Regions from separate parts of the Homo sapiens genome. Here all the other regions are linked to region 3. Evidence: promoter capture Hi-C in human tissues and cell types (Jung and others, 2019). All regions are on one chromosome and are shown on one strand. Each heading gives the region's core, a stretch centred on a gene start or on the middle of the fragment in contact. The rest is flanking DNA. Distances are from core to core; before and after follow the strand shown.

What was found. Contacts are between HindIII fragments. The study calls those that stand out against the background at their distance.
Region 1: a contact is called between a fragment that was not itself captured here and the fragment with the promoter of SOAT1 in region 3, in 6 of the 25 tissues and cell types used here (IMR-90 fibroblasts, aorta, heart left ventricle and 3 more).
Region 2: a contact is called between a fragment that was not itself captured here and the fragment with the promoter of SOAT1 in region 3, in 1 of the 25 tissues and cell types used here (mesendoderm cells).
Region 4: a fragment that was not itself captured here is called in contact with the fragment with the promoter of SOAT1 in region 3 in 1 of the 25 tissues and cell types used here (bladder).

What each region holds. Positions count from the first base shown.
Region 1 is chr1:179,141,852-179,147,442 of GRCh38, reverse strand. All of the region lies in intron 1 of ABL2 (ABL proto-oncogene 2, non-receptor tyrosine kinase), which reads left to right. Among named protein-coding and RNA genes, the nearest start is that of TOR3A, 63 kb to the right of the region's middle. RefSeq lists an enhancer at 3,601-4,800. The HindIII fragment of the contact is 9,613 bases long and covers 1-5,591 here.
Region 2 is chr1:179,103,465-179,108,837 of GRCh38, reverse strand. ABL2 (ABL proto-oncogene 2, non-receptor tyrosine kinase) reads left to right here. Exons shown (of 12, transcript NM_007314.4): 12 at 1-5,373. The coding sequence ends at 1,120. Among named protein-coding and RNA genes, the nearest start is that of TOR3A, 24 kb to the right of the region's middle. The HindIII fragment of the contact is 5,184 bases long and covers 1-4,762 here.
Region 3 is chr1:179,291,793-179,297,196 of GRCh38, reverse strand. It overlaps SOAT1 (sterol O-acyltransferase 1), which reads right to left and starts at 3,400. Exons shown (of 16, transcript NM_003101.6): 1 at 3,261-3,400. RefSeq lists an enhancer at 2,696-3,203 and a silencer at 3,416-3,605. The HindIII fragment of the contact is 6,238 bases long and covers 1-4,490 here.
Region 4 is chr1:179,049,410-179,054,677 of GRCh38, reverse strand. It overlaps FAM20B (FAM20B glycosaminoglycan xylosylkinase), which reads right to left. Exons shown (of 8, transcript NM_014864.4): 3 at 4,313-4,399; 4 at 40-149. Among named protein-coding and RNA genes, the nearest start is that of FAM20B, 26 kb to the right of the region's middle. The HindIII fragment of the contact is 3,652 bases long and covers 2,148-5,268 here.

The DNA.
Region 1 (5,591 bases), core at 606-3,105, 150 kb after region 3:
TATTGTGAATAGTGCTACAATAAATATATGGAGTGCAAGTGTCTTTTTGATAGAATGATTTCTTTTCCTTTGGGTAGATACCCAGTAGTGGGATTGCTGGATTGAAGTATAGTTCTACTTGTAGTTCTTTGAGAAATTTCTATACTGTTTTTCGTAGAGGTTGTGCTAACTTACATTTCCACCAACAGTGAATAAGTGTTCCCTTTTCTCTGCATCCTTGCCAACATCAGTTGGTTTTTTTTTTTTTTTTTTTTTTTTTTTGCATTTCTCTGATGATTAGTGATTGGACCATTTATTCATATGTTTGTTAGCCACCTATGTGTCATCTTTGGAAAATGTCTGTTCATGTTCTTAGCCTACTTTTTAAATTTTTTTTTTTTAAAGACAGGGTCTGGCTCTGTCATGTGGGCTGGAGTGCAGTGCTGTGATCTTGGCTCACTACAGCCTCAACCTCCCAGGCTCAGGCCATCTCTGGGCTGATAAGAGTCTATAGTTGTCACCAGTAAAGGAGAATTTGTATCCTGTCTTTAGGTAGAAAAGCAAGAGGATATGGAGAGCTTTTCCCCTATTCATTGCTTTAGGCTCAAAAATAATTTTTATGTCAGAGACATATTTTGGGGTGATATATCTTTTTCCTTTCCTTTTTCCTCATGGCAGAAGGCAAAGGAGAAACAGGCACCTTCCTCACAGGGTGGCAGGATGGAGTGAGTACAAGGAGAGGAAATGCCAGACGCTTATAAAATCATCAGATCTTGTGAGACTCACCATCACGAGAACAGCATGGGGGAAAATGCCTCCATGATCCGATTATCTCCGCCTGATCCTGCCCTTGACACGTAGGGATTTATGGGGATTACAATTCAAGATGAGATTTTGGGTAGGGACACAGCCAAACCATATCACTTGGGACTCAACCTCAAGATATCTCATTATATATATGCACATATTCTAAAATCTGAAAAAATTTTAAACCTGAAACACTTCAGGTCTCAAGTGTTTTGGATAAGGTATACTCAACCTGTGCTACTGCTGCTTCTCAGTGAATTACATGGCCATCTACCCAGTTACAGTTAAGCCTAAAACCTGGCAGCCGTTCTTTATTTTCTCCTTCTCTCTTATGTTGTATCCAAGTAATCTGCAAGCCCTGTTGATTCCCTCTTCAAACCATATCGTTAAGTTCTTCCACTTTTCTTTGTCTCCACTGCCACCATCCTATTCTAAGCCAACATGATCCCATTGCTGAACTACTGCATAGTTTTCTGCTTCTAATTTGGTTCTCAATGTAATTCATTTTTTTTCATGTAATAATGGTCTTTTAAAAAATGGAAATCAGCAGCCTGGCCAACATGGCAAAACCCCATCTCTACTAAAAATACAAAAATTAGCCAGGCATGGTGGTGCACACCTTGTAATCCCAGCTACCCAGGAGGCTGAGGCAGGAGAATCGCTTGAACCTGGGAGGTGGAGGTTGTAGTGAGCCAAGATCACGCCACTGCACCCCAGCCTGGGAGACAGAGCAAGACCCTGTCTCAAAAAAAAAAAAAAAATGGAGATCAGACCATATGGCCATCCTGCTTAAAACTGTTCACTGGATTTCCATTGCACTTGGAATAGAATCCTAAATCCCTAAGCACTTGATTTGGCCAGCCCCTGTCTACCTTACTTTGTTTCATGCTCATCTTTTGACTTCCGTAACAGTAGCCACACTTCTTATTTCCTGTACATACCAGGTTCTTTTCCTACCTCAGAGTTTTTGCATTGAACTTGCTACATTGTCTACTCAGAATGCCCCCGCTCCTCCTCATCTTTGCTTAGATTCTTCTTTTGCTTCTGGCCTTAGTTTGTCACGTTCATTAAAGTAATGCACTTTTCCACCTCAGCCTATTAAAGAGATTTGCAAAAACTGAAAATGCTACTCTTATCTTCTTAATTCTTTTTTGAAAATAGTTTTCTTTTTGGTAAAAATATGTTATTAACATAATGGGTTTATTGTTATTTTAGAATTAATAGGTATTCAAATTTCTCATTAAAATTTCAGGTTTAATTTCAAATATAGTAAATACTGATAGCTATAACATAAACAAAAGGCCTTTGGAGACCTTAGTAATTTTAATTTTTAATTATGACAAAGTATCAGAATTTACTATTTTAACTATTCGTAGATGTACAGTTTAGTAGGATTAAATATATTCATAATGTTGTATAGCCATCCATTTGCAGAACTAGACTTCCAGAACTAGAAAAATTCTAAATATTTCATGTAAGTAGAATTATATAATATTTGCCTTGATGTGTCTGGCTTATTTCACTTAGCATCATATTTTCAAGGCCCATCTACATTGTAGCATATATCAACATTTCATTCTTTTTATGGCTAAATAATACTTCATTATATGTATAGACCACCTTTTGTTTATCCATTTATCTCCTCTTTATTCCAAATTATGCTATAAGTAATTGAAAATGTAACTACTAATTATTGGTAATTTAAATAGAAGATTTATTGATTAAATAGTAAACCATATGGTATAGAGTCTACATATGGATAGAATGTGGATGATGAAGATCCTTTCCCATACCTTTTTTTCTATAATCCGGAGAATGAGATATTCAATCTGGTATTTGAAATTCTTAGTCATAATTGTGGTAACCTTTAGTCATCTAACTCTTTTATTTGTCCCTTGATGTTGAAAGTACTGGCTTTATAAAGGATAATTTTATTGAAAACATAAGCTTTGTTATTTTAAATAGTTAATAATTACCTACATTAAAGTTATTCTTTCTCTAATAAGGTTAAGTTACCATTTTATTTTTCAATTTTCTCTAAGGCTGTTTCAGTCCTGTCATCCTATTATCTTACCCTGTTACTTATATTGACCTAGAACAGGGGCTGGTACATAGTAGGTGCTTAATAAATATTTATTGAGTGAATGAGTGTTCTCAGATACACAGTTAAACAAACACTCTTTTTTTTGTTTTTTTTGAGATGGAGTCTCGCTCTGTCGCCCAGGCTGGAGTGCAGTGGCGCGATCTTGGCTCACTGCAAGCTGCACCTCCTGGGTTCATGCCTTTCTCCTGCCTCAGCCTCCCGAGTAGCTGGGACTACAGGCGCCCGCCACCATGCCGGGCTAATTTTTTGTATTTTTTGTAGAGGTGGGGTTTCACTGTGTTAGCCAGGAGGATGGTCTCGATCTCCTGACCTTGTGATACACCCACCTCTGCCTCCCAAAGTGCTGGGATTACAGGCGTGAGCCACCGCCCCTGGCCTACAAACGCTCTTTAATATTATTTTTGTAGATCATACATTAAAGTCATGTATTATTTGTAGGTTTTACTAGTTTAATTCTCATAAAGTACTATCATTTTCAGGTTTTTAAATTTTCTTTAACTTTGTTCCTGTTTATTAACAAAGATTGGGCTTTTTGCTTTAAAAACTTTTAACACTCAGGCTGGGCATGGTGGCTCATGCCTGTAATCCTAGCACTTTGGGAGGCTGAGGCAGGTGGATCACGAGGTCAGGAGTTTGAGACCAGCCTGGCCAACATAGTGAAACCCCGTCTCTTCTAAAAATACAAAAAATTAGCTGGGCGTGGTGGCGGGCGCCTGTAATCGCAGTCACCTGGGAGGCTGAGGCAGGATAATCACTTGAACCCGTGAGGTAGAGGTTGCAGTGAGCCGAGATCGCGCCACTGCCTTCCAGCCTGGGCGACAGAGCGAGACTCCGTCTCAAAAAATAAATAAGTAAATAAAAATAAATAAGTAAATAAACTTTTAACACTCAAAAGTTTTCAACACTATATTGCCATGTTTTTAACCTTTATTAAGCTATAGAGCCAGATTGTTAGCAAAGGCAGTTATTTCTTGGCTTCTGTGCTCATGAATCAGATCACAGCTATTTCTTTGACTTTGGCTTTGTGGTTTCTTGAACTATTTAAGTGATGTAAAAGATGAGTCTTGTTAGGCGTTTCCTTTCTTTTAAAAGTGTATTTCGTGTTTTATTGTAAACAGATTTTCTCCAAGGAAACTTTTCTCTCTAGTCTCACCTCATCATCTCCCTATAAAATAGAGATATATTAACTTCTACATTGTTTTATTATTAGGCTATTTGTTATACATATATATGTTGGTTTTTATTTTACTTACATTTTAAAAGTGTTCTCAGAGATTTTGAAGTAACTCCATTCTGACTCAGTCTTTTGCGGATTGCTGGAAATTTTCCTTTAGGTCACTCTCCACCCACTTTGGGAATTGTGAATGCTCACCATTTTATTGGTTCCCTCTGGCCACTGAGTACATGAGTAAATGTCACATGCATGTGGTATTGCTTGTCAGAGAATGGAATTCTAAGACTTCCTCTTTACACAGAACAGTTTAACTTTTGTGCTTCTGGGCAGAGGTATGGTCCTTGGGACAGTTCTCCTTCCACCTAATAGTTATGGCAGAGATCAGGACACTTCACTTTGCTGCCTGTGCACTGAGGCCTCAGAATCTGCTCTACCCGACTTAACAGGTATGGTTCAGAGTTGATAGTTTCAGGGAGGCTTGATAACCACATTAATCAAGTGTGAATGAAGATTTCAAAAAATTCATCTTATCTGCTACTGTTTTTGTCTTCATTCTTGGTCAGTGAAAGTTTGTGTGCTTTCTTGGGGGAATATCTCATAGTAGGATCTCAATAAATACTGAATGGAAGAATGTATGGATAATATGTAGTATTTTGTAATAATAAGATATAGATGGCTTGATGTGAAGAACTTAAGCTATATTGAAAACTGTTGAATAATTTACCTTACATAATTTTTAAAAGAAGTTATTAAAACTTATTAGCTTCTTAGAGAATATACAGTCAGATAAAGTAGAATTCTGGCAAGATAATGTTTATAAAATACTTGAAAATGCCTAAACTAAAAATTTGTAATATTAATTTCTCCTATTACTACCTGACAAATTTCTAATTAAACTGATAAAAGTTACTGAATGACTAACTGGTGAAAAGTATTTTTAATAAAATTAAACATGAAGCTTAGGAATTTTCTCAATTTCAGTTTTATTATTTTGGGTTTTAACTTTTTCAATCATGATAATTTACTTTGTACAAGTGGCTATTCTGTTTTGCTTTATTTTTGTTGTAGCCTGCAACTGTAGCAATAGAAAAAAAATGCCTTTTTTAAATTGTGATAATATATTTCTGTTATCTAGGTTCTTTACATGTGAGTGAAAATCAGTCTTCTCTTATCCCATCTTAAATCTCTGATCTACCTCTATAGCAGTGAATAATGGAAGATAAGTTAACTTGATATCTAAGTTACCTAATTTATAGTAGTCATTTCATTTTGTTCAAAAATAAACCATTCCCAGCCCACACACTTGCATTTGGGCGTATACAGTACATCTGAATCATCCAGACATGTCTGTCTTAACCAATGAGGAAAGTGACATAGACTATAGCTACTGGGTAACACTGACATTTACTTGCTCTTCCCACAGGCTTTTGTTTTCTTTTGTTTTTGCCTTTATCCCTTATCTTGTTCCCCCTCATTTAGTTCCCTTACTCTTTATGATTCAAAATATGTTCGTTCTTAGCTTCAGAA
Region 2 (5,373 bases), core at 921-3,420, 190 kb after region 3:
CCAGCTGGAAAGGACAGTGTCCACCTCTTCTCAGCCAGAAGAGAATGTGGACAGGGCCAATGACATGCTTCCAAAAAAATCAGAGGAAAGTGCTGCTCCAAGCAGGGAGAGACCAAAAGCCAAGTTATTGCCCAGAGGAGCCACAGCTCTTCCTCTCAGAACACCCTCTGGGGATCTAGCCATTACAGAGAAGGACCCTCCAGGGGTGGGAGTGGCTGGAGTGGCAGCTGCCCCCAAGGGTAAAGAGAAGAATGGTGGGGCACGACTTGGGATGGCTGGAGTTCCAGAGGATGGAGAGCAGCCGGGCTGGCCTTCTCCAGCCAAGGCTGCCCCCGTCCTCCCAACCACTCACAACCACAAAGTGCCAGTCCTTATCTCACCCACTCTGAAACACACTCCAGCTGACGTGCAGCTCATTGGCACAGACTCTCAGGGGAATAAATTCAAGCTCTTATCTGAGCATCAGGTCACATCCTCTGGAGACAAGGACCGACCCCGACGGGTAAAACCAAAGTGTGCCCCACCCCCACCACCAGTGATGAGACTACTGCAGCATCCGTCCATCTGCTCAGACCCTACAGAAGAGCCAACTGCCCTAACTGCAGGACAGTCCACATCAGAAACACAGGAAGGAGGAAAGAAGGCAGCTCTGGGCGCAGTGCCCATCAGTGGGAAAGCTGGGAGGCCAGTGATGCCTCCACCTCAAGTGCCTCTGCCCACATCTTCCATCTCGCCAGCCAAAATGGCCAATGGCACAGCAGGTACTAAAGTGGCTCTGAGAAAAACCAAACAGGCCGCTGAGAAAATCTCAGCAGACAAAATCAGCAAAGAGGCCCTGCTGGAATGTGCTGACCTACTGTCCAGTGCACTCACGGAACCTGTGCCCAACAGCCAGCTGGTAGACACTGGACACCAGCTGCTTGACTACTGCTCAGGCTATGTGGACTGCATCCCTCAAACTCGCAACAAATTTGCCTTCCGAGAGGCTGTGAGCAAACTGGAACTCAGCCTGCAGGAGCTACAGGTTTCTTCAGCAGCTGCTGGTGTGCCCGGGACAAACCCTGTCCTTAATAACTTATTGTCATGTGTACAGGAAATCAGTGATGTGGTGCAGAGGTAGCCACTGTTAGCCTGGTGGGAAAATGCACACATTTCTGAGGGGAGAGGGAAAAGGACTTGTTTTCCTGTGTTCTTGTTTTCAGAAAATGAAAGACTCATACTTGAGTGTGTTTATGTGAAGTACCTCAGATCCCTGAGTTCTCACGTTTACAGTTTCATCTCAAAAATAAGAAGCAAACCACATAAGTATAGGAGAGGTAAATTAAGTGGGGGCAAGGCAGTAGTGGACAGGGTTGGAAACTGCACTGGAAAATAGGGAACATGTGTATGTCATAAGGAAGGCAATGCAGCCCATCCCTACCTGGAATGCTGGGAAGTGCTAGGCAGGGCTGCTCTCAGCAAGACTGCAGCAGCTGCACCCAGACCTGGGGCTCTGGTAGGTACTAATGGTGATTATGCTCCAATTTACCTAATGAATTTGGTGGGACAGCAGAAAAGAAAGCTGGGAATGTACCAAGAGAAATTTTTGTTCAGGGCTGTTGGAAGTAGCTGTTAGCCTTGCTTCCACAAGGCCATTGCTGCTGTAATAAGAACTGCAAATCAGAGTGCTACAACATAAAACTGGGAAATATGGCCCTATCTGAATGCCTCTGTCCTATTTTCCGCTGGTGTATCAGTTAGTGCAGGAAGTAAAGAATGCTGGAAAGTTGAATCAGAAATTGAAAACCTTCTAAAATCTTACACAGATTAGCAGAAGTCACTTCTCCCAGTCTGGTATATTATTTCATAATGGACCAGGATCGGCTTCCTGCCTGTTGGTGGCTATCTGTAAACCATAAGTACAGGGGTCTCCCTAGTGGTTCTTCTCTGTCTTTTGCTGGGCAGGCTGTCTTCCTTTATTCCTGGTAGCATTCAGAGCATTAACCAGTGTTGATTTTGAAAATAGTAGTCCCTACAGGTTCTCACAAAGGAATGAATCCTGTTCTGATACAGTTCCCCTGCATACTGACATACTGGCCAAGGACTTGAGCAGCTGTGTATTTTTCTTTATCAACTAAAATACCAGGGAGATGGTCTTTTCTTGAAACCCAGTGGCCTGTATGTGACTGAGAGGAAAAGCTGGCTTGGTCCTAATGGCTGTTTCTCTGTACCTTTCCCTTCCCTTACCACCTTAAGCCCAATCCAGGTAGAGAATAGGGAGAGGCATTCTCCTCTCTATGGATTTGAAGTGAATCACCCCCACATTATTCTCACATGCTTTTCTTCTCTCACATATTCCTCCCTACTCCCCCACCCAATCATTGTGCTTATTTGTACAGATCTTATTGGGAATATTCTTTATTTATTTTGTCATTTCACTTCTATTTTAAGAATGCATAATTGAAGGAGTAGTCATTTTCAGGGAGCACCAGGTAGACCCTGGGAACCTAATGACTTAATCCTTAAATATGTTTTGCCCTTGAAAAATAGGCCTTTTCCTTCCTTCCTTAGTTATAATTGTGGAAGCTAATTAGGATGGCATGGAAGTGAATCTAATGAGTTAGGTATTATTAATGTTCTTGGTATCGGGTCTAATTCCAGTTACTGCTTCATTCTCTTTTTAAAGCTTTATGAATACTTCCCCCATCCTCCCCAAGGAGAGCTCAATACACACATATTTTTATTTTATTCTCTCAAAGGAATATTAGCTTAGGAAGATAGGAATTCAACATTGAGCACTGAGTTTTCTTCTGGCTCTGTCATTGATACACTGTCAAACCACAGCCTCATCTCTTAATCTATTTAATTAAGGTAACAGTACATGTTCTCAAGGGTGTTGCAAGTAAGTGTGCAGCTATCCCTTGGAGAGCCTCTCTGGAAAGCTCTTTTAGTGCAGTGTTGTTATGCTGAATTGTTTTCCATTATCTTATTTGCTGAGTAGAAAATATTAATGAAATTAAGAATTGTTGAGATTATATGAATTGGGCTAGAATACTAAGGGGAAAACTATGTTTTGAATAGAGTTTGGCATTTTTGACCAAGAACAAAATTGAGTTTTCATTGGAAAGAAAGGAAACCTTGATTCTTACCATTGCTGCTCCAAAGGAGGCCCAGGTTAAGAGGATTAGAGGAGACACGCGGTGCTGGGCATTCCTGGCAGGTGTTGGGTGATCCCCGCAGTATGTCACCTGCAGTTGCAGCACAGGCAGCTAGTGATTGGGTTCATCTCCTCCTAGTGGTTGGAAGAGAACTCAGATGTAAAAACCAGCGGTCCTTCTCCCACCTTCTTTCCTGCCATTCTTGCTCATCATACATGTCCGTAAACTTGAAGAACTCGTTTTAGCAGCTAGCCTTTTAAGGTCGAGGATGGGAAAGCTAAAACTGTAGAATATTATTATGCTGCTTTTTAGGTTTATCCCTGTTGTTGTGGGATGCAAGTTAAGGGATTGTAATTGTTTTTCAGGGTTTTTTTGTTTTTTGTTTTTTAAGCAAGGGCTCTATTTTCCCTTGAGAGTTCTGGAACTAAGCCTTGGAGAAACACTACTGAGTGTATTTAGGCTCCCTGGTTTTCTTGCCCAACAACAATCTGAAGGGTAGGGGGTGGGGGCTGTGTCTTACTCAGGGGCAGCACCTAGCTGTCTTGCCTACAGTGGGTGCACGATATATAAATGGAATTGATTTTTGTCAACACTGTCAAGAGTGGCATTGACTATTGGAGCATACCCCGTCCACATGATGCTTGAACTATGTAACTTCAGGGGTTGAGGGCTCAAGGTTCAGGTTAAAGAGGCACTGTCAACTTACTATACAAGCATAATTTAGGTTTTTCCTTTTTCTACTTGAAAAGGACCAGCTTAAACACAAACCCTTATGTAAATTAAAAGGTTTGAATCCAAAGCAGAGAGAACTGCTTCTGGAAAAGTGTAGTTTAATTTTAACTATTCTAAAAGCAATGAGCAAAGGCCCTTGTCCAAGGCGTTGACAGTTTTCTAAAGTGGTTATGCTGTATATCTGGATGCATGCCTTTGGGCTGCCACTGCTTGATTCCTTTCATGTACAGATAATATTACTTCAGTTTAGATTTCCCACTTTAAAATGCAGTGATTTGTGTTGAATACATCTTGATTGTGCTTTACCTAAAGTATTTTCTTAAAAGGCTTTGTGTAAAATTTAAATGTATATATTTTCCTGTAGACTTCCATCATGATTTTCAGAGATTAGCCTTAAAAAATTTGGCCCTAAGAAATTCATTCAGTGTTTTTCTAGATGACCTCTGTACATAGAGGTCATTATAGTGGAGACCCTTTACCAGCAGCATTTTAAGATTTAAATTAGATAGAAAGTTTCTTAGGATTCAACTGAAAATTGGCTAGTAAAATATGTCCCAGGTAATAAAGCATGCTGACTTTGCTAAGGCACTGCCCATTTTTATTTAACTAAAGTCATGGAGATTTTGAGTTTAAAGGATGCAGTATAGATAGTGGTTTAGTGTTTAGGCTCTAATGCCAGTCTAAAAGGCAAGTCATTTAACCTTGGGAGCCTCAGTTTCCTCACTGTAAAACAGGGATAATAATAGTAACTACCTCAGGGTTGTTGTAAGGATTAAATGAGATGATATTTGTAAGATACTTAGCTCAAGTGCCTGGCACACAATGAGCACACTCTATAAATGTTCTACTACTACTATTATTAACACCTAGTCTAGGGATGCACAGCAGAATCCCCTAGGGTTAAAAAACAAAACAAAACAAACAAAAAAAACTGACGGAATAGCCCCACTCCAGATCAGAATTCCCAGTGGGCTGGGGTCTCGGCCAGTGTATTCTCCAGTAATCTCGCCAGGTGTTTGAAACACCCAGTGCTATCTGAAAACTATCAGTACCCCAACCCTTTGGTTTATAGATTAAGAAACTAGCAGAAGATGGTTAAATTACTTGCCTATTGTCTCAGAACGGTTAATTAGTGGCGGAGCCAAGGCTAGAATTCAAGTCTCTTGACTTTATGGTTGTGGGGTCTTTCCACCATACCTGCTGCCATGTGAGACACTGCAAAAAAGTGGCTCAGACCGACAATCAGCCTGTGTGGTGCTGCACACTTTCTAAAGCACATGCTCCTGACACTTTGACCTTAAGGGGCTTGAATGTGGAGTAATGGGAACACAAGCCAAGCAAGCACTCAGTAGAATTCAGTCATTTAAAAAATTCAATGGGGTCATTCTTTTGGACAGACCTCAGCAACACAGCAATGTGCACTTTGTAGTAAAGAAATACCAACTTGAGTTTTTAAAAAACCTAGTTAGTCCTACATTCCCTTTTCTTTAAAAAAACTTTATTG
Region 3 (5,404 bases), core at 2,151-4,650:
CTAGTCTCTCAAGAGGTCTAGCAGTGAAGGAATCTCTAGCGTTTAGGAAGCAGGTAACAAAGTGCTGAGTGCAGTAGGTGTAGCACATATCTCATTTAACATGTCCATTTTTAAAGATGCAGGAGATTCAGAAATGCTAACAAACTTGTTCAAAGTCACAGGTAACATAAAGCTATTCCCCCCCAGGTAACAAAGCTAAGTAGACAGCTATTTATACAACACACTGATTGAAAAAGAATTTCTTAAGAATCTAATCTGTGCACGCAATTACATAATGTTCAGTGTGATAAGCATCTAACTTATCTTAAGAAAGCAAAACAAAAAGAAATGATTTGAGAAACAAATGAACTTGGAAAGACATGTCAACTTTAGCCTGCCTCCGTGTTCCCATTAATACAGCTTTCAAAAGAGCCCATAAATCTGTATCACAAATACTGAGTGCCTACTCCAGGTAAAGAACTTTGCCACATCACCCTTAGATTCAGTGGTGGAAAGGGGACACAACTGTGGATAGAATTTACAATCCAGAGCAAAAAAAATTTCCCTCTGGCACCCAAAGGTTGGCCCTAACACAACGCTACAACTTTTACATATCACAGAACTAGGTCTTTAAGTAATTAGCAAAACTAAAGAACAAGAACAAATTCTCATTTACATCTGTATGGTTAGTATAATCTCTTATTAACCAATGTGGCAAAAAAAATGCAAAACAAAGCCATCCTCTTAGAAAAATAGAACTTGGCTGGTCTTTGTTAAAAACTTTTTCCCATAGGAAAAAGGGACTCTTCCCTGGTTAATACAGTAGTTCTCCCATATCCATGGGGGATACGGTCCAAGACTCCCAGTGGATGCCTAGAACTGTGAATAACAGTGAACCCAATACACGTTGTTTTTTCCTATACATACCTATTATAAAGTTTCATTTACAGGCTGGGCACAGTGGCTCACGCCTGTAATCCCACCTCTTTGGGAGGCCGAGGCAGACCGATCATCTGAGATCAGGAGTTTGAGACCAGTCTGGCCAACACAGTGAAACCCTCCCTGTCTCTACTAAAAATACAAAAATTAGCCGGGTGAGCTGGGCGCGGTGGCTCACGCCTGTAATCCCAGCACTTTGGGAGGCTGAGGCGGGTGGATCACCTGAGGTTGGAAGTTCGAGACCAGCCTGACCAGTAAGATCTGATCAGTCTTTACTAAAAAAAAAAAAAAAAAAAAAAAAAAAAAAAAAAATTAGCCGGGCGTGGTAGCACATGCCCGTAATCCCAGCTACTTGGGAGGCTGAGGCGGAGAATCGCTTGAACCCGGGAGGCGGAGGTTGCGGGGAGCCGAGATCGTGCCATTCCAGCCTGGGCAACAAGCGCCAAACTCCATCTCAAAAAAAAAAAAAAAAATTAGCCGGGCGTACTGGGACACGCCTGTAATCCCAGCTACTTGGGAGGCTGGGGCATGAATATCCCTTGAACCTGGGAGGCAAAGTTTCAAAAAGTTAGGCACAGTAAGAGATTAACAATATACTGTATTAAAATTCACTTGAACATGGTATCTCTCGAAATGTCTTATTGTACTCTGTTTCGCACCTCAGGTAGCTGAAACTACAGAAAGCAGTTAAGTGGGGATCACTGTATTTCTCATTCAAAAGTTCCTTCCTCTGTCCACCAACTTATTCATTCTTTCTCTGGGCCAAGTGCTGGACCAGACCCTGAAAATTACAACAGGCTAAACCAGCCTTCATGAAATGCACTAGCAGAGGAAACAAAGCAACTAATTCATTACAATTAATGATCAACTTCTGCTAAGGAGAATAAAGAGTTCATGGAGGGCTTAATGGGGATGGGGTGATTTCCAGAGGAAGTGATATGTGGGCTGATATCTGAGGCAGGTATAAGAGTTGGAGGGAGGGAGAGAATACAGCATTAGAGGTGGAGGAAACTCCTAAAAGCCAAGAGAGGAAAGAAAATGAAGCTTTCCAGTAACAAAAATAAAGCCAGTGTGGCATGAACCTGGAAAGCCAGAAGGAAAGTGGGCCAAATGAACCAGAGATAGAGTGTGCTCACTCAGTAGGTCTTTATCCTAAAAGACTGCGAAACCTCAGATGCATTCTAAGCATGTGATTCACTAAAACACGTGCATTTCTAAACGATAATTCAGTGCCACAGAGCTCCTTCCAAAACCCATTCTCACACCCAGACAACGCACAGACTTCCTTAACAAGTCATTCACTGACACCGCCCAACTTTTAAAAAGAAAAAAAAAAAGCTTCAAATTGAATTCTACTTCAAGGAAGAGGAAATCAAGCAGGCTGAAAAAAAGAAAAAAGTGGTTTAAACAGGTGGCAGCCACTTAAATATTAAAAAGTGACCAACAGGCCAGGCGCGGTGGCTCACGCCTGTAATCCCAGCACTTTGGGAGGCCGAAGCGGGCGGATCACTTGAGGTCAGGAGTTTGAGACCAACCTGGTCCAACATGGTGAAACCCCGTCTCTACTAAAACTACAAAAATTACCTGGGCGTGGTGGCGCACGCCTGTAATCCCAGCTACTCAGGAGGCTGAGGCACAAGAATCGCTTGAACCCGGGAGGCAGAGGTTGCAGTGAGCCGAGATTGCGCCACTGCACTCCAGCCTTGCGACACAGCGAGACTCCGTCTCAAACAAACAAAAGTGACCAACGAACTTAACCTAAATATATATACGGAGAATAAAGTTTATATAGTTGTTTCTCACTTAGAAATAACCTTTCAATATACATATTATTTAAATTACATGACCATTAACACTTAGGGAAAACAGAAACTTACCTACATCCTAATATTTTACAATAAAACATGAGCTTGATTAAAGGTTCTGGTGCCCCTACAGATTTTCATGTCTTGCTAATACCATCCTTCCCTTCACACATTTTCTCTAAATCATTAAAAAGCTGACTTCCTGAGTGCATTTTTGGTTTCGCTTTTTAAAGAATAAAACGTCTTCTAATTCCTAACTTTCTTTACTACTGACTTGAGAGATGCCACGAGATTTGCGGAACACCAAACCAGCGTGCAGGGTTTAAAAGGCTGCCCGTGACCCGGGCGCCTGACGGTAACTTTCCCGCCCTCCCCTCCCCAACTCCCCTGCAGTCGCCGAGCCTCGCCTTCTCCGCAGCACAGCCCAGGACAAGGCCGGGCCGGAGCTGCTGCCGCCACCGCTTCTCCCTTCCCCGCGGGCTGAGGCCGGTGGACCCAAGCGGGAAGCGAGGAGAGGCGCGGGAGCACCACCGTTACCTGAGGCCCGCGCCCGGCAGCGGGCACTTCGGCCAAGAGGGCAGAGCCGGGAAGCGGTCACAGAGCAGCCAGCAGGAAGGTCGACTCCGGGAAGCTCTCCTGGCGCCCAGGGCCCGCAACGTCGCCTGCTAAGCTAAAGCGCCGGACAGCCCGGCCCCTACGCCCCCTGCCTCCGAGCACCGCTGCGTCACGCGCAGGGCCACCTCCGGCTGAGCATCCTATTGGTGGTCCCCAGGTTGCCAGGCTCCGCCCACCTCCCCGCCCCTTCCCGGGCGCGCGGGTCCCCGGCGCCAGTGCTCGCAGGCTGGCCCTGGCAACCTGCCAAGGAAGCTTCTCACCCGGACATCATGATACCGGCGACAACATCTTGCTTGACACTTCCACCCCAGCAGTAGAATGTGCAGCCAAAACGGGACTGCGACAACTCCCTGCAAGCCCGAAACGGCACCCTGCGTGGTAGCATGGAGCTGCAGGGGCGTTTGGCTCCTAGGCCGACTGGAAGAAGCCGCTTCTGGAGCTGTGGATCATTGCAGTTTGAACTGACCATCCAGGAACAACGTAGAACTAGCCAGAAGCAAGAATCGCTGGCTTATCTGCACACCAAGATTCGTGCCTTTATCAGGAGATTCCTTACCGTTTGAAAACCAGCGTCCTTCAGCAACATTCAAACTAGATAAGGGGAAAAAACCTGCACCAAATAATAAAACACACCAAATAATGGAACAACTAAGTAATATTTAAGGGCCCTTGAGGCCAGGTGCGGTGGCTCACGCCTGTAATCCCAACACTTTGGGAGACCGAGGTGGCTGGGTCACCTGAGGTTAGGATCGAGACCAGCCTGACCAACATGGTGAAACCCCGTCTCTACTAAATACAAAAAATTAGCCGGGCTTGGTGGCGCGCGCCTGTAATCCCAGCTATTCGGGAGGCTGAGGCAGGAGGATTGCTTGAACCCGGAAGCCAGAGGTTGCAGTGAGCCTAGATTGTGCCATTGCACTCCAGCCTGGGCAATAAGAGCTAAACTCCTTCTCAAAAAAAGTTTTAAAAATAAAATAAACAAAGGGCCCTCGTGACTTCATAATCAAAAGAAGAATGATGCAGAGAGATTTGGGACAGAGATTAAATACAACAGTTAATCGCTTGGAATTTGTGAAGGCAGAGGTGTACGTAAATTTAGGGTAAAGGTAGGTGAAAAGGCAATGATGAGAGGAGCAGAGACTGAAGAGTCGCACTCACAGCCTGCAAACTAATACCAGCTAGCCTGGCCTGACTAATCGCTTCTTCCCCACTCCTCCCCAGGACAAAAATCCCTGAACAAACAGATGAGGTTTAGCAGAACTGACTACTCTCTGGGTCCTTTAAACAAAGTGGATTTGTACACGTTCCCTTGGCCACCCAGCAGGCTGCACTGTTCACTCAAAGCAGAAATGGCCCTCAGCATCCAGTCGAGTTTAGTACTGGCTGTCATTGGCAGATCTGCTCCGTTTGGCCTCTTCTACAACTGTGATTGCCACGTGTGCTGACTAGTTGGTGACAGGGTCTGGTAGACCCCCAGCTGCTTCCCCTCCCCACTCCCACTAGTTATAGAGCAGTAGGAACATAGGCACTCATTTCTATTGGGTCTCTGTTGGCTACCTTCTATATACACCAAGATGACTGGCCTTTTCACTGTTTGATTCATTCATTCAAAAAATATTGATAGTATTCTTGGTGCTAGAAATACAGTGGTGAATAAACAGAAGAAGCCCCTGCACTTAGAGGCTTATGTTCTGCAGGACTAGGTATGAAAGGAAACAAACAGGTGGCTCAAGCCTATAATCCCAGCACTTTGGGAGGCTGAGGCAGGAGGATCACTTTGAGGCCAGGAGTCCAAGACCAGCCTGAGCAACATAGTGAGACTCCCTCTCTACAGAATTTAAAAACAACAACAACAACAACAACAATGACAACAAAATTTGCTGGGAATTGTGGCAGGCCCCTATGGTCCCAGCTACTCGGGAGGCTGAGATAAGAGGATTGCTTGTGGTGGGGGATGGGGGGTGAGGGACGGAGGATGCAGTGAGCCAAAAAATCATGCCACTGCACTGCAGCCTGGTCAACACAGTGGGACTCTGTCTCAAACAACAAAAGCTTATGTTTCTAAT
Region 4 (5,268 bases), core at 2,724-5,223, 240 kb after region 3:
ATCATTCCCCTATATAAATGTCCTCTACAATCTTCTTACCTACAGTTAGGAAGGTGCTCAACAGCTGCTCTGTGGCGACAGGTTTGATCTCTGTCCGAAGATTAACAAATCTGCCAACTACCAAGGGGGCTCGGTGGAAACCCAGAATCCTGGTTTGGAAGATTGAAGAACAGAAGAGAAAAATCTTAGGGGATGTTTTTTAAGTAACAGTCTTAAAAATTACAGTTCATCATGTCAAATGTGTAAAGGGTTTTTAGCTAGTAGCTAAACCTAATTTTTTAGAGGTACATATATTTAGGAATTTAATGTGAAGGTGTGTATAATTTATTTTAATATACATTTCAGCAAAAAGAATAAGACAAATCTGATAAAATGTGAACACTTTTTAAATCTACAGAGTGGGTATATGGGCTCATTATACTATTCTTTCTACTTTTGTATGATAGAAATTTTTTCATAATAAAAATTAAAAATAGATTTTAGGAAAGTATTAGAAAAAAAATGGGACCCAAACTCATATATGGGTTCAAATCTTTAAATAAAACAGCATGTTGGTTAAAAAAAAAAAAGCAGACTGATCTAAAAGGCTAAGCCCACAGAGCAAATTAAATATAGAGACATTTGAAGATATCTCTAATAATCTAAAAGGTTGAAAACAATGATTTATTTTAAAAAAATGAAATTTCCTGGCTAAAAAATATACACCAACTGAACAAAAGTTGGAGGGGCAGAATTTGGAACACACAGAAAATTTACAATGAAGAAAATAAAAATCACCTATGATTCCACAACCCAGAAATAATTACAGGTGCTGACATTCTGGCATATAAGCATGCTTTCCCTTTAAGTGTGGGTATATAAACACACACTCACACTTACGTATATACATACAATCGAGATTATATTGTATGCAGTTTTATATCTTGCTTTGTACTCATCATTGTATCATGAACCTTTTCCCCAGTCATTAGAAAGCCTTTACAAATGGCTATTGTTTAGGGCTGCTGATTCTGTCCTAAACACAGTCTTAGAAAAGCCACAAAGGCAAGATCAACAGATTTGTCAAAATAACATAGAAATCCAGAGATACCCCCAGAGGCAAGGGAAGGTGGTTAAATCTGACTGTAATGAAGAAACAGCAACCCAAAGCAGAAAAGTATCAAGATCCACAAATGGAAAAGGTTGGGAAGGGTTTTTTGTGTGTGTTTTGTTTGTTTGTTTGTTTGTTTGTTTGGGTGGTTGGTTTTTGAGTCTCACTCTGTTGATCAGGCCAGAGTGCAGCGGCATGATCATAGCTCCCTGCAGCCTGGAACTCCTGGGCTCAAGTGATCCTCTCACCTCAGCCTCCCTGGTACCTAGGACTACAAACGCAGCCTAGATTGGGAAGTATTTTTTCTTCCCATTGAAAATTGCCAAGCCCAAGAACAGCAGCCAGTTTAGCATTGAGGGGCAATGTTACTGTGGCACTTGAGGCTGGCTACGGTGGCACTTAACAAAAGTGACAGGGCGACTGGCAAGAGAACATCTTTCAGACTTTGAGGTAGGGAAGGACTTTTAAATACAAGACTCCCAAAGCCCAAGTCACAAACTGAAACATTATAGTTAGTTAACATCAAAAGTACACAAATACTCTAAGATAACAAATAGGTGTCCTGCTGTGAAAAGATAAACTTTGCCAGTAATGGGGAAATACAAAATAACAATGAAATAACAATGAAATATCACTTTACATATATATCAACAAAACTTAGTGTGTTGGGCAATACAAAACACTGGTACAGAAATGAGGAACTTTATGCCTGTTGGTTTCCAACAAACAGGATAGGAAGAAGGGAGTTGGGGACGAAGAAAAGAGGCAAACAGATAAGGTCTTGGAAAGCCTGATTCTAGTGTGCCATTAAGTGAGGAGAAGGATTTATCCAACTGTCCACCACTAGGTCTTAAAAGGGGCAGCAAAAATTCATGGTATTGTACACACATATCTAAGCTTTTCCATATCAATAGATGTTTAGGTTACAACCAGTTTTCCCACTATTGAAAATGCTACAGCTAAGACTGTTGTATATATATCTTTGAATTTTGTATTCTTTCTCTAGGGTAGTTCCTAGAAATGTCTTAGATATGTGTATAAAAAAGCAGTTATTTGTTCAAAGGATATGAACATTCCTTAATGTTGATATATTTATCCTTAATTTTGATATATAATGCTAGGGTTCTTAACAAAAAGACTGAAACAATTAACAATGCCATAAGCAGCATATGAATCTCAATGTATTCCTCCCAATAAAGTATTATCTTTTTTTTAAGCTTTGCCATTTTCAACAGGTAAAAACAGTATCTCATCTGAATTTTTAAAAATTTCTGGTGAGGATGAACCTCCCCCCACCCCACATATTTATTAGCAATTGACAATGTTTATACTCTTAACCCATTTTCTAATAGAGTTTTAACATACATATGTTTGTATAAACACATATTAAGACCATTAATATTTGTATAAACACATATTAAGGCTATTAATACTCAGATTACATTAGATTCAAGTGTTTTCTCCGTTTGTTGTTTGCTTTTAAATTTTGTCTCTTGCTATATAAGTTCATTATTTTATTTAGTCAAGACTATTGAATTTGTGATTTTTAAGTTATTGCTTTTATGTTTACAAAATCCTAATTCAGAAAAAGACAAACATTTCACCTTTTTTTTTCTGGTTTCCTTATAAATTCATTTTTAGGCTGGGCGTGGTGACTCACGTCTGTAATCCCAGCACTTTGGGAGGCTGAGGTGGGCGGATCACCTCGAGTCAGGAGTTCCAGACCAGCCTGGCCAACATGGTGAAACCCCGTGTTTACTAAAAATACAAAAAATTAGCTGGGTGTGGTGGTGCGTACCTGTAGTCCCAGCTACTCGGTAGGCTGAGGCAGGATAACTGTTTGAACCCAGGACGTCGAGGTTGCAGTAAGCCAAGATCAGGCTACTGCACTCCAGTCTGGAGGACAGAGTGAGACTCTGTCTCAGAAAAAAAATTTATTTATTATTTTATTTTATTTTATTGAGACAGGGTCCCACTCTGTTGCTCAGGCTGGAGTGCAGTGGTGTGATCACAGCTCACTGCAGCCTCGACCTCCCAGGCTCAAGCAATCCTCCCTCCTCAGCCTCCCCACTAGTTGGAACTATAGGCACACGCCACCACACTCAGCTAATTTTTGTATTTTTTTAGTAGAGACGGGGCTTCTCCATGTTGTCCAGGCTGGTCTTGAACTCCTGGGCTCAAGTGATCTGCCCACCTCAGCCTCCTAAAGTGTTGGGATTACAGGTATGAGCCACTGCATCCAGTCATAAATTAATTTTTTAAAACAAATATTGTTAGCAGTTTCTTTTAAAGTCAGCCAATATGGCCTTATGAAAGAGCTGGTCAGCAGAGTAACTGGGATACCAGACAGTTCAGCTGCAAGGTTCCTGACTAGTAACCTGCTGAAAAAGAAAAAAAAAGAATTTTCCTAGTTAACTTACAAACTTATAATTCACATCTATTTTCTTTCCTTTTTTTTTTTTTTTAAAGACAGAGTCTCGCTCTGTCGCCCAGGCTGGAGTGCAGTGGCACGATCTCGGCTCACTGCAAGCTGTGCCTCCTGGGTTCAAGCGATTCTCCTGCCTCAGCCTCCCAAGAAGCTGGGACTACAGGTGCCTGTCACCACGCCCAGCTAATTTTTTGTATTTTAGTAGAGACGGGGTTTCACCATGTTGCCCAGGCTGGTCTCGAACTCCTGAGCTCATGCAATCTGCCCACCTTGGCCTCCCAAAGTGTTGGGATTACAGGCATGAGCCACTACGCCTGGCCCTTTCCTTTTGTAATTATTCTGGTTTTTGAAGCTGTGCATAGTTTGTATAAAGAATAATAAAACTCATATTTCATGCTATATGTTTCCAGCACATGGAAATAAGTCAGCATTACTTACTTAAAACAAATACATAACAAAACAACAGGATGGCTAGACCCAATTAACGACCAGTTCAATTCAGAGATTTAAGTTCAAAGTTTATTTACCAAGAATATCTTCACTGATGATAATAACAGAGCAGGCCAGAAATGAAATGACCTAAAGAAGCATGGAAGTAAAATACTTCAGTATTCCTGGTGCCAACCAAATTATGAGACTCATACAAGTTTAATGGAACTAGTCAATTAGCTATCTAAAATCGATAACAAGTTATTTATTAGTGTTGCATCCTTCTGAAGGAGTCCACGAGTCCTCTCCAAGAAAGATTTTTGAAAGCAAACAAAATGAACATAAGCTGCTGTGATCATACGCACCTGTCCAAGTGAAAGGCTGCTACCTCTGCATTGTGTCTATCATAACCAGCATACGGTTCCCCTTCCACCACATGGTCTCGGCTATACCTGCAAAGTGAATGGGAAGCACAGATGTATACGTGGATTACACCAGTAACAGGTGACAGCACAAGTGGTAGAATACACCCATTAGCAAGCCTGATTCTGCTATAGTCACCTTCTCTGTCAACCCTGCAAACAACTGTGGATTAGCATGAATTGCCGGTAGATGGAATGAAGATGAGGTAGAGAAGGAAACTAGAATTCTCTATCTACGTCACCAATCATTCTAAGAATAAAACATGGAAGCTGTCATTTTTGCCCCACTAAAGGGCTTTTGATGTAGTTTTAGTACAGATAAAAGGTAGTTTTCTGGAAGGCAAGGACTGTCTTTGTATTGCCAGCACAGTGTTAAGCACATAGTTGGTGCTTAATAAATGTCTACTAAAATGTTTATTAGACTGACCTGAAGAAATGAAGAAAAATGTGTAATTAAAACTTTTGCTGGCCAGGCACGGTGGCTCACACCTGTAATCCCAGCACTTTGGCAGGCCAAGATGGGTGGATCACCTGAGGTCGGTAGTTCGAGAACAGCCTGGCCAACATGGCGAAACCCCATCTCTACTAAAAAACACCAAAATTACCTGGGTGTGGTGGTGAATGCCTGTAATCCCAGCTGCTCAGGAGGCTGAGTCAGGAGAATCGCTTGAACCTGGGAGGCGGAGGTTGCAGTGAGCCGAGACTGTGCCACTGCACTCCAGCCTGGGCAACAGAGTGAGGCTCTGTCTCAAAAAACAAAAAACTTTTGCTTACCAGAATGGCTGTGGCAAAGCTTATAAGAGAAATTTAAATTTGGGGGAAAATAGTCTGATATAACTCAATCTTTGTTAATGGGAAGGCAACAGCGCTTTTGAAAAAAGTTGTTTGAATAACCATTC